3 separate regions of the Homo sapiens genome follow, and regions 1 and 2 are each linked to region 3. Evidence: promoter capture Hi-C in human tissues and cell types (Jung and others, 2019). All regions are on one chromosome and are shown on one strand. Each heading gives the region's core, a stretch centred on a gene start or on the middle of the fragment in contact. The rest is flanking DNA. Distances are from core to core; before and after follow the strand shown.

Region 1 (3,945 bases), core at 493-2,992, 110 kb before region 3:
AAACAACCAACAGCAGAGGTCCACAAAGACTTCAGATATTGGAGTTACTGTATTGTATTGTAGCGAGTTATTGTATTGTAGGAAAGGAACATAGAAAAAGGATTCCTGATTCTGTCTTTGGGGTAGGAAGGGCACGTGATAAAAACTTTCATTCAAAAGGTAAAAGACAAGCCAATAAGGGTTTTAGAAGATTACCCTTGATCCTGGAAGATGTTCATAATACATATAACTGAGGAAAGACATGACTCCAGTAGAAATCAGCAAGAAAAAGTCAGAAAACCCCAGAGAACAATGAGCAAAACATTTGAAAAGAAAATCAAAGAGAGGATAGCCAAGTGGTTAATAAAGATCTAAAAAGGTGCTCAACCTCATTAGTAGTCAAGAAATTTAAATTAAGTCCACAGTGATGTATTTCCATACTCGTAGCAGGATGGTAAAAATGAAAAGATTGTGACAGTTCTACATACAGCATGGTTATGGAACAATAGGAACTCTCAACTACCAATGGCAAGGCTGTGAATTGGTACAAACTCTTTGGGAAATAATTTGGTATCAGCTTGAGAAGCTGAAGATATGCATACCCTGTAACCCATCATTCCCTATGCTGAATGTATAACCTACAAGAACACCTGCCCACGTGCTCCAGCAAATGCACACAGAGTGTTCATAGCAGCTTTATTCTTTTTTTTACATGAGTAAATTGTTTAAAATTTTTTTGACATTTAAAAACATTTATTAATTCATTTAACGTAATAAACTTATTACATGTTGATATAAATAACATTTTTATTTAGAAAATCCTAGTTTTTTATTATACTTTAAGTTCTGGGATACACGTGCAGAACGTTATTACATACATGCTATGTATACACACAGCAGCTTTATTCTTAACAGCTGCAAACTATAAACAACTCAGTAGAGATGTGTGTAGTCATACAATAGATGGCATGGCAATGAAAATTGACAAAATACAGCTACACAAAACAATGTGGATGGAATTCATTAATATAATGTTGAACACAAAAAGCCAGGCACAAAAGAATACATTCCAAGTGACTCCATTGATATAGAACAGAAGCAGACAAAAACAAAAACATATTTAGGGGAATACATATGATCTTGAAAATATGAAAAAGAAAGTCACTACCATTAGCTGCCTTTGAGAGCATAGGAAGGGGTTGTGACTGGAAAAGAATGAAAAAGGAGCAGAAAGTGTTGGAAATTTTTTACTTGATTTCAGTGATAGTTTAATGAGTGGTCACTTCGTAATAGTTCGTTAGACTGAACATTAATGTTTCATGCATATTTTTATTTTTGTGGTGTTTTTCACAATACATATTTTTACAAAAAGGAAAAGTAGCTCTTCCTTGTTTTGTCTCCTTTTCTTTACTAACTGAACTAGTCAGTCCTAAAGCCATTAGATAGGCACATTTAGCAAGGTAGGCGTTTGCCCCAAGGGGAAGGGAGCCACGGCTGGCTCCGTGTGGGCATCAGAGCTGGAACAGGTCAAGGAGGGTGTCTCTGTAGGAGGGCTGCTGGCCTGGTGTGCTGGAGCCAGGGGTAGATGAGAATGCCCAGTGAAGAGGCAAGAAGCAGCATAGCATGGAGACCAGCCTGCCCATGTTGAGAAAGGCATCCCCCTGGGGCTAGAGGGGCAGACTGGCATAGAATGAGAGCCTGAGTGGGGTGAGCAGAGTGTCCAGGCAGGGGAGCAGATGAGGGAGGAGCCTTAGAGCTGGAGCAAAGTGAGGAAGCTGTCTCCATAGGGAAGAGGCCTGATGTGGACTGTCCGAACTGAAGGAGGGTGAGGAGGGTGTCTATGGGGGTGGGTAGCCAGACATGGAGGGTCTGAGCCCAAGGAGATGAGGAGGATACATAGAAGTTAGAGTGGTCGGCTGTGGGGAGTTGGGCCAAGCATAGTGAGGAGGGGTTCCACAGAACAGAGCTGTCTTGTGTCAGGAATCAGAGCCTAAGCAGGGTGAAGAGGGCATCAATGCATCCAGCGATTCTCCTGCCTTAGCCTCCCTAGTAGCTGGGACTACAGGTGTGCGCCACCACGCTCGGCTAAGTTTTGCATTTTTAGTAGAGACGGGGTTTCACCATGTTGGCCAGGCTGGTCTCGAATGCAACCTGATATGGCTGTTGGAGCCCAAGTAGGGTAAGTTGGGCATCTTTGAGTGGCCCAGTGTGGAGGGGCAGAGCCTGAGCAAGGTAAAGTTTGATATTTTAAATTAAACAAGCATATAATATGTATCTAAACATTTTCAAAAAATTAAAACAGGAGTAGTAGTGATGGGTTATATTATTATTCACAACTATTCATTCCATCTTTCCTTTAAGAGGACACTCCTGTCCATTACCTTGCAATTTTAGAACGGCCCGTGGAAGGAAGACACATTTCTGTCTCATTGACTTTGGGTTTGCTGTCAGCTGTGCTTTGCCTATTGGAGTATGAGCAGATGTAGCATATGCATAGTGAGTTTTGCACTGTGAGTTTCTGCCAGCTCCTTTGTGCTTTCTCTCTGCCAGGAGAAGGGGCCTAATCCACATAGAGGCTGCTTCTTTTGTCTTGGTCCCACAGCCTCAAGTAGAGCCCCCACTTGGAACAAAGCAGTAGACAATTTGCCTAGGAAGTCTTTTGTTGTGGCAAGCCATGGAGAGCTCAAAGTTCTTTGTACACCAAAGTAATAAAAATACAGTTGATTCCCATTACTTGGGGGTAGTTATGTTCTGTAAAGTCACTGTGAACACCGGATTAGCAAATACTGAGCCATTGCTCCTAGGGAAAATGCAAGCCTCTGACCACACATTTTCATCATTTGATCAATACATAACCTTGTTTTTATATGTGCTTCTGTCTGAAGACACATGACAGAGATGGTAATTAGAAGGTGCACACAGAAGACTTCTGGGAAGCTGGCTACTTTCTATTTTTTAATCTGTGTGGTTAATTATTAAATAAAACTCTACATACTTTATTTATTTATTTATTTTTATTTTTATTTTTTTTGTTTTGTTTGAGAGGGAATCTCTCTCTGTCCCCCAGGCTGGAGCATAGTGGTGTGATCTCGGCTCTCTGCAACCTCCACCTTCTGGGTTCAAGGGATCCTCCTGCCTTAGCCTCCTGAGTAGCTGGGACTACAGGTGTGCACCACCACTCCAGGCTAATTTTTGTATTTTTAGTAGAGACAGGGTTTCACCGTGTTGGCCAGGCTAGTCTTGAACTCCTGACCACAGGTGATCTGCCTGCCTCAGCCTCCCAAAGTGCTGGGATTACAGGCATGAGCCACCGTGCTGGCCCTGTCTTTATTTTTTAAACATGTATATAGGCCAGGCGCGGTGGCTCATGCCTGTAATCCCAGCACTTTGGGAGGCTGAGGCAGGCGGATCACTAGGTCAGGAGATTGAGACCATCCTGGCCAACACAGTGAAACCTCATCTCTACTAAAAATACAAAAAATTAGCAGGACGTGGTGGTGGGTGCCTGTAATCCCAGCTACTCGGGAGTCTGAGGCAGGAGAATCACTTGAACCCAGAAGGCGGAGGTTGCAGCGAGCCGAGATCGCACTACTGTACTCTAGCCTGGCGACAGAGTGAGACTCCATCTCAAAAAAAAAAAAAGACACCTTATGTAATATATATTATTGTTTCATTAACATTGAATTGTGGCTGAAAGCCCTGTAACTCATGCCTGAACCAAGCTTATCTGACACAAGTAATTTCTTTGTAAGGCACATTGCAGGCCTCTTGCTCTTAGGACACTTGACAGCACTTTAGTAATTCTTGGCAGCCATTTTAAACAGCAAACTCACCAACAAAAAGCACAAAAATGTGAAAAATGTGACACTAAGTAGACTGCAAAAAGGAAGCTTGTTTATAGTAGTAGAAGAGCTTAAACAAGCAGAGCGTTGCCTTGTTTGACTTCAGCTGGGAATGTGTACGTTG
Region 2 (4,003 bases), core at 162-2,661, 79 kb after region 3:
AAATTTGATGAAAGACATACACACACGGATTCAAGAAGCTGACTAAACCCCAAGCATGATAAACCAAAGAAATCCATACAAGACACACCATAAACAAATTTCTGAAAACTAAAGTCTTGAAAGCAGTTGCAGAGAAATTAACCTTACCAATAATACAGCAACAATTTAAATTGCAGCAGATTTCTCATCAGAAACTGTGAAAGCCAGAAAGAAGTGGCACAATATGTTTAAGTACTGAAAGAAAAAACCGTCAACCCAGAATGCTAAGCAAAGTGAAAAAATCCTTCAGGTATGAAAGTCAAGACATTCTCAAATGAAGGAAAAACTAACATAATTTGTTAACTGAAGAACTATAGTAAGTCCTTAATGTCATCAATAGTTTCTTGGAAACTGCAACTTTAACCAAAATGATGTATAATGAAAGCAAGTTTATCGTAGACTAATTGATATTAACAAGGTAAGTCCATACAGCATACTTCTGGTCACAAAAACAATACCACGCTTCTAAATAAATGCCCAGACACATCTAGTATTAAACATTAAAATAAATGTGAGCTATACATACATTTAAGAAAGATTAATAAAACAGGGAAGTTCATTATTTACTCACCTATTGGTGATGTAATTAAAGTGAGGTCATGCTGGATTAGTATAAGCAGTGAGTGACAGCAGTCATCATGGTGGTGAGTTAAACCAAGGAATAAATCTTTGCAGAGCAAAAATTGTAAGGAGTATCTCCTACCACCATGCAGTTCAAAAACAATAATAAATATGGCAGGCTGGCTGAGTGCTCTTATACCAAATTATTTACTGTTATGCATTTGTATGATTATTATATACTTTACAAATTTTTATTTTACAATAATTTGTATTCACTTATTCTTCATTTCCAACCTGCTTATTCCATTTCAGGGTCCTGGGTGGCTGAATCTTATTCTGGCAGCTCAGGGTGCAAGGCACCCTGGAAAGGATGCCATTCCATCACAGAATGCGTGCACGCACACACACACACACCCCTCACTCATACTTGGATAATTTAGATAATTTAGATACACCAATTAACCTAATGTGCACATCTCTGGGATGTGGGAGGAAATTGGAGTGCCCAGAGAAAACCCACACAGACATGACGAGAATGTGCAAACTCTACACAGACAGTGGCCATGGCTGGGAATCAGTTGTTGTTTTTTTTTCTCATCAACATTATAAAGAAATGACGTTAAACAAAATAACATTATTTGAGGACCTGCTGTACCGTGAAAGAATGGCTAAAGGAAGTTCTCCAAACATAAAGGAAATGATGAAAGAAGAAAACCCGAAACATCAGGAGTGAAGAAAGAACAATGGAAATAATAAAAATATGGGTAAATATGATGGGCTATCCTTCTTCACTTGCATTTTCTAAATTATGTTTGATGGCTAAAACAGAAATTATATAACATGGTCTGATGTGGATTCAATTTATGTAATGAAGATATTTAAGACAATTACATTATGAAAGGAGAAGGGTAAAGGGACCTAAATAGAGGTCAGGCTTCTATCCCTCACTCAAAGTGGCAAAAGTGTCGATACCAGTAGATGGTCATAGATTATGTTATGTATGATGTAATATAGAAAGCAGCCACTAAAAAACCTACACAAAGAGATACACTTAAAAAAAACACTTCACCATAGATAAAAAAAATGGAATTCTAAAAACTGTTTAACCCATAGGAAGAGTAGAGAAATAAAAGAGAAGAATGAAAAGCAGAGGGAATGAAAAGAAAACAATCAAATGGCAGGCTTAAACCCTAACAAATAATTGCATTAACTGCCGGTAGTCTATAAATATACTTTATAACTCTGAGACTGGCAAAACGGAGTGAAAAAAATGACCCAAAATAAGCTCTCTACAAGAAACTCACTTCAAATATGACATAGGTAGACTGAACATAAAAGGATGAAAAAAGATACACCATACAAAGATTAATTAAAAGAAAGCAGAGTTAGCAATTTCAATATCAGATGAAATAGACTGCTGAGCAAAGAAAATCACCAGGGCCAAAAAAAGATATTAAATGGGTCAAATCACAAAGAAGACATAGCAATCATACATGTGTACATACCAAACAACAGATCTTAAAAATCTATGAAACAAAAATTGGTAGAACTGAAAAAAAAAATAGACATCTACTATTAAAGTTGGAGACTTCAACACATCTCTCTCAACACTTGATAGAAATACTAGACAGAAGGGTGGGCATGGTGGCTCACACCTGTAATCCCAACATTTTGGGAGGCCAAGGCGGGTGGATCACCTAAGGTCAGGAGTTCAAGACCAGCCTGGCCAACATGGTGAAACCCTGTCTCTACTAAATATAAAAATTAGCCGGGTGTGGTGGCGGGCGCCTGTAATCCCAGCTACTCGGGAGGCTAAGGCAGGAGAATTGCTTGAACCCGGGAGGCGGAGGCTGCAGTGAGCCGAGATTGTGCCACTGCACTCCACCCTGGACGACAGAGCAAGACTCTGTCTCAAAAAAAAAAAAAAAGAAACACTAGACAGGAAAGCAGCAAGGATGTATAAGAACTTTAAAAAGCCATCAATCAAAAGAATCTAATTAATATTTAGACAATACTTCACATAACAATAACAAGATTCACATTCTTTTGAAATGCTTATGGAACACTCACCAAGACTATATCTTAAGTCACAGAATAAAAGTCAACTAAAAAAAATTTTTTTAAAGAGACAGCATCTTGCTCTATTGCCCAGGCCGGAGTGCAGTGGTGCCGATCATGGCTTACTGCAGCCTTCAACTCCTATCCTCAAGTGATCCTCCTACCGTGGCATCCAAGAGACTTGGGATTACAGGCATGAACCACTGCTCCCGGCCTCAAGGAATTTTTGAAAATCAAAATCGCACAGCATGTGTTCTGAGATCACAATGAAATCAAACTAGAAATCAATAACAAAAAGATAATAGGTAAATCTCCAAACATATGGAAATTAAACACCTCATTTCTGAATAATACATGAGTCAAGAGGCGCAGTTGTGCACTGGGTCACCAAGATGACTCTCCCAAACTATACTCCATCACACCTGGCCCCTCTGCCCATGACCCTCAATCCAGCTGAATATGACATACCTCCACAAACTGCAACCTGAGCATTTGGCCATAAATCTGGGTTTAAACAGGGGTACTTAATCAGCACAATGACCCTAACCAATGATGATTCATCGAGGGCTCATCAAACATCTTGGCTTAATTTGTTGGACTTGTGTAAGATCAGCACATGTCTATCCCAATTTCAGACCCATTATCAAATACTCATCCAGTAGCTCTATGTGGAATCGGATCCGGTAGGGATAGGAAAGAAAAGCTTATCCAGGAAGAAAAATTGGATCAAACATTTAACATCTCATATTAAGTCTAGCAATGACGATTTTATGTATTCCTGCTTAAATACACTTCTATTAATCCAAAAATCCCACCACATTTCTAAATAATACATGTGGGCTGGACGCAGTGGCTCACACCTGTAATCTCAATACTTTAGGAGGCCAAGGTGGGTGGATCACCTGAGGTCAGGTGTTCGAGACCAGCGTGGCCAAAATGGTGAAACCCCGCCTCTACTAAAAGTACAAAATTAGACGGGTGTGGTAGCATGTGCCTGTAATCCTAGCTACTCGGGAGGCTGAGGCAGGAGAATCACTTGAACTCAGGAGGCGGAGGTTGCAGTGATCCAAGATCACGCCACTGCACTCCAGCCTGGGCAACAGAATGAGACTCCATCTCAAAAACAAACAAACAAACAAACAAATTTCTAATATTGGTAATTTGTATCTTTCTTTTTCTAAAAAAAATTGGTTAACCTGGCTAGAGATCTGTTAATTTTATTGATAATTCAAAGAGACAGCTTTTGGTTTCACTGATTTTCTCTATCATCTTCTGGTTTTCAATTTCATTGATTTCTGCTTTGATTTTTATTATTTCCTTCTACTTACTTTAAGCTTAAATTGCT
Region 3 (3,937 bases), core at 412-2,911:
GTTCTCTCCAGGTCCTATCCCTGCCTCTAATCCTCAGCATTTTCCTCTGGAGAACGGAAAGCTGAGATTCCATGCTGTTTAAGCCACCCCCTGTTCTGATAGCCTGGTGGAGACTGCAGCTCCAGCAAGCACCTTTGAGAGAGTCCCCAGCTCGCGCTCACTCAATCCTTAGAGTGGAAGAGATTGACTGAAAGACGACGAAGGGCGATACAGTGTCCAGGGAGGATTCCTCACTTTCTTCGAATCACTCAGCCAGTTGGCCTGAAAGGCAAAAGCTGAACCCTCACTATGACTCCAGCAGCCATGGGATGGCGGTGTGACCTTGGGCAAGAACATTTTTTTCTCACCGATGCTCCCTTACACATCTTTAAGATGAGCGGGGCATTTTCCTAAATCTGTAAAGTTCCTTTCCGCCTGGACAGAGGAATTGGGGAAAATCTTGCCAGGCCAGGCTCTCCCAGTCTTTCCCCAGGGCTGGGGGAGGCCCCCAGGGAGGGACTCCAAGAGGAGAGGTGAGCGCCCCAGGCTCCGGGCTTTCCCGCAGGGCAGGCTTCGGCCGGTTCGAGAAGGAAACTGCGGCCCCGGGTCCCCAGGCCGCGGGGAACAATGTCCCGGCTGTGCGTGCCCGGAAGCCCGTCATGCACCAGAGACTCGAATCCCAGCTAGGGGTGGGGACCCCCCCTTGGCTGCGTTTCAACGACGCCTTTGTCTACCCCTGGGCCGTGCGAGGGAGAGGACTGACGGATCTGGTTTCAACCGCCTTGACTTTCCCGGGGGTCCCCGGGTCCGGGGGCGCCCCTGTTCCCGGAACCCGGGCCCTCCCACCTCCTCCCAGCCCAGCGCGGCCCCGCCCCGTTCCCGCTCGGCCGCCGTGGGGTTACCATTGGGCAGAGAGCAGAAGGTGGCACAGCCCGCGCTGCAGCACTTGAGGTTGTCGGCGCATTCGCTGTCCGAGACGCACTCTTGCGTGCAGTTCTGGTCAGCCTGGAGCTCGGGGCACACGCCAGTCTTCTCTGCTCCTGTGCCTGGGAGGGGAGGCCCGGGACAGTCGAGGGTGGGGCGTAGCGCCAGCCCCAGAGGATGCCCACCTCCTGCTCCAAACCTTAACCCCAAGGAATTCTCAGTCTCTGGCCCTAGGAGTCCCCTTACAGCCCCCAGAGACTCCTTCTTCCAGACCAGGAGTCCCTGACCCCTGGGAGTACGAGAGCTCCCTAACCCTTGGCGTCGGGGCCCTCAGATCTCAGCCCTAGGGGACGCCGCACAGCTGAGCGTCTCGGAGCTTCCGAGGTCGAGGCAGAGCAGCCCCCACCCCCAGCCCACTGCAGCCACGGAGTGTCCGCGTTCAGCACAGAATCCTCCCAAATTGCAGCCATCAGTGGTCTCTCCACCTCCAGCACATTGGACCCCACACCCTAGGCTCCAAGGGTCCCCGCCACTTCCGCCCCCGGAATTCCCACTTCCCCAGCCTCCAGAGGCTACGCCTCCGCCTGGCTCCATCCTGGCGCTCGTGGCTCGGCCCCTCTAGGCGCCGGGCCTCTCCCCGCCCCACTCACCTGAGACTAGGGTGAAGCCGAACAGCAGCAGGCTGAGGAGGAGGGCGGCGGCTAGCGGGCCTAGGCGACAAGCAGGCATGGTGCTATGCCCGGGCGGGGTGCAGGTGTGAGCCGATGCTCAGGTGCGGGGATTTAACCGCGCGCGCGGGAGGGGGCGTGGGGTAGGGGTGGAGCCGAGCGGGGAAGGGGAGGGTGGAGGGCTTTGCGGGCACCGCGGGCGGGCTGCCACATGAGGTCATTTCACAATCCCCCAGGATCAGGTATCACTCTTGGCCCCGGTGGGAACCAGGAACTTAAGCAGCTTCCAGGACGGGACCAGCTACGGCCGGACCCTTGTCCACGCCTCCCTCCTGACCTCCCTCCTGGGGCCTGAGGGCCAAGGCTCAGGGCTCCTGGGTTTCTATTCCAAGACTCCGAGGTTTCTCCAGAGTGTCCCCAGTGGGCGGTTGAGGAGGATAAGGCAGGGCCCGCAGGGAGGCAGTAGAGCATGCGGGTTAAAGGGTTCGATTTGGGGTCAGCCAGATGAGAGGGCAGATCCCTCTTGATGGAGGGCTAGGGTAGTGATACAGAGCACATAGTAGGGGCTACAGAAATAGCACTTATTATTAATAAACAAACCCTCCTCATCAGAAACAGGCCCAGGAAGGTGAAGCACCTAGCAGTCTCAAGCCGTTTGGGTGTGTGTTTCTGTCTCCCTCTCTTTGTCCTACCGGCCCCTGATCAGGGCTGACTGTGCCAGGCTCTGTGCTCCTTGTCTCAAGGAATTGTCGCCGGTCCTCTGACCGGGGAGTTACTGTTATCAGCTGTATATGACAAAGGAACTGAGTGTTTAGGGATTTAGGACCGCACCTCCACCACAAGGTCCCCTGCAAAGCTGTACAAATAAGGTTTTGAACCCAGGTCTCTCCCTCCAGGCCCTTGTTTTTTCCATTCCGTCGTAAATATTCACTGGGTGCCTACTGTGTGACATATGCAGGGCAAGACGCTTGGTGAAGAGAAAGTCGTCAAAAGGGGCCCTCCAGCACTGGTCTTGAAGGGGTGACAGGGTCTGGGGTCTGACTCCCACCTCCACCACTTCCCACCTGAGGGCCCTGGAATGAATCCTTTCCTGGATCTGAGCTGCCACATCATCAGTGAAAATGACACCTATATGGGACTTCAGTGAGAACACAAATGCAACGTTCCTGCCACGGAACAACCATGTACTCACTGGGAGCATTGAGAGTAGATCCACACTGATTGACACAGGGACTCCAGGCCTGACCCATGATAGGTACTGGATACATGGCCATGAGTGCTCCACAGATAAGTGTCTCCTGTGACGAAGGAGACCAATAAGTATAAATGAAGCTTTAGAATCCAGGGGGTTAAGTGCCAAAACAGAGTTACCCAGGGAGTTAGACAAGAAGTGCTTCCTGCTCCAATGATCTGAGGTTCTAGAAGCCCCAGGAGGTCTTTGCTGCTGGAGGCTAGAGGGGCCCTGGGGCAGTGAACACTGGGATGATAGTGACAGGTGAGTAGGGTTTGGTGATGTGAGTACATCTGGCCACTGTCCCCAAAATGGATGCTGAGAACACCTCCCCCAGCTTCTCATGCTCAACTTGGGGACTGGGGACGTTATTGGGAGGGGCCAGGGCTATTTACTCTGAGCTCAGTCAACAATGAGGGCAGGAGCCAGGTGGGAACACAGCCCATAACAGGCTAGTGAAACCCAGTCTAGGGCACAAAGAGAACACTGGGGTGAGCAGCCAGTTTTTAGCCCGTGGACCCAGCTGGCTACTGTACATTCAGCCCCAGGCACTGCTGCCAACAGCTTTCTTCCGGGCCCTATTCAGCTCCCTGGGCCAGGAAACTGCCCAGCCTTGCTCCTCCCAGGCCCTTATGAGCACCCTATTGATTGGCTCTCTCTTACAGGAATACAGACTGAGGGAGAGTGGCAGGGCCAGGCAGAAGGATGGGGAAGGAATTTTCATCAGTCAATGGCATCAGATGTTTAGCTTTTGTGGTGCCAAGTTCCGTGCTAGGTATAGTTATAGATATTCTCTTTACATCATTTAAAAGGGCAGAGGCTTTAGAACCAAATGCATCCATGCCCAATCAGGGACAATGCATCCATGGCCACTTTCTGGCTATGTGACTTAGAGAAACACTTCATGTTTTGGGCCTGCATCTTCTTCCTGCATAAACTGTGTATCATCCTAACAGTCTTGGATGATTATTATAAGGGTTTTATAAGATTATTATAAGGGTTAAAGGAAAAAGCATAAATCAGAGGTTGCAAATCTGGCTAGAGCACATACATTATTAACTACACAGTATGTTTTAAATTTTTAAATTAGTTGCCAAGATTTAAAAGTAGCGAATTTCATATAAAAATAAACCTC

What was found. Contacts are between HindIII fragments. The study calls those that stand out against the background at their distance.
Region 1: the fragment with the promoter of WFDC8 here is called in contact with the fragment with the promoter of WFDC2 in region 3 in 2 of the 25 tissues and cell types used here (mesendoderm cells and thymus).
Region 2: a fragment that was not itself captured here is called in contact with the fragment with the promoter of WFDC2 in region 3 in 3 of the 25 tissues and cell types used here (liver, mesendoderm cells and thymus).

Annotation. Positions count from the first base shown.
Region 1 is chr20:45,577,081-45,581,025 of GRCh38, reverse strand. It overlaps WFDC8 (WAP four-disulfide core domain 8), which reads left to right and starts at 1,742. Exons shown (of 6, transcript NM_130896.3): 1 at 1,742-1,804. The coding sequence starts at 1,779. RefSeq lists an enhancer at 1,992-2,927. The HindIII fragment of the contact is 18,093 bases long and covers 1-3,945 here.
Region 2 is chr20:45,387,753-45,391,755 of GRCh38, reverse strand. All of the region lies in intron 3 of SYS1-DBNDD2 (SYS1-DBNDD2 readthrough (NMD candidate)), which reads right to left. It also overlaps the pseudogene NDUFB4P10. Among named protein-coding and RNA genes, the nearest start is that of TP53TG5, 11 kb to the right of the region's middle. The HindIII fragment of the contact is 5,202 bases long and covers 1-4,003 here.
Region 3 is chr20:45,467,477-45,471,413 of GRCh38, reverse strand. WFDC2 (WAP four-disulfide core domain 2) reads right to left here and starts at 1,661. Exons shown (of 4, transcript NM_006103.4): 1 at 1,554-1,661; 2 at 882-1,025. The coding sequence starts at 1,632. RefSeq lists silencers at 737-786, 807-996. The HindIII fragment of the contact is 12,073 bases long and covers 1-3,937 here.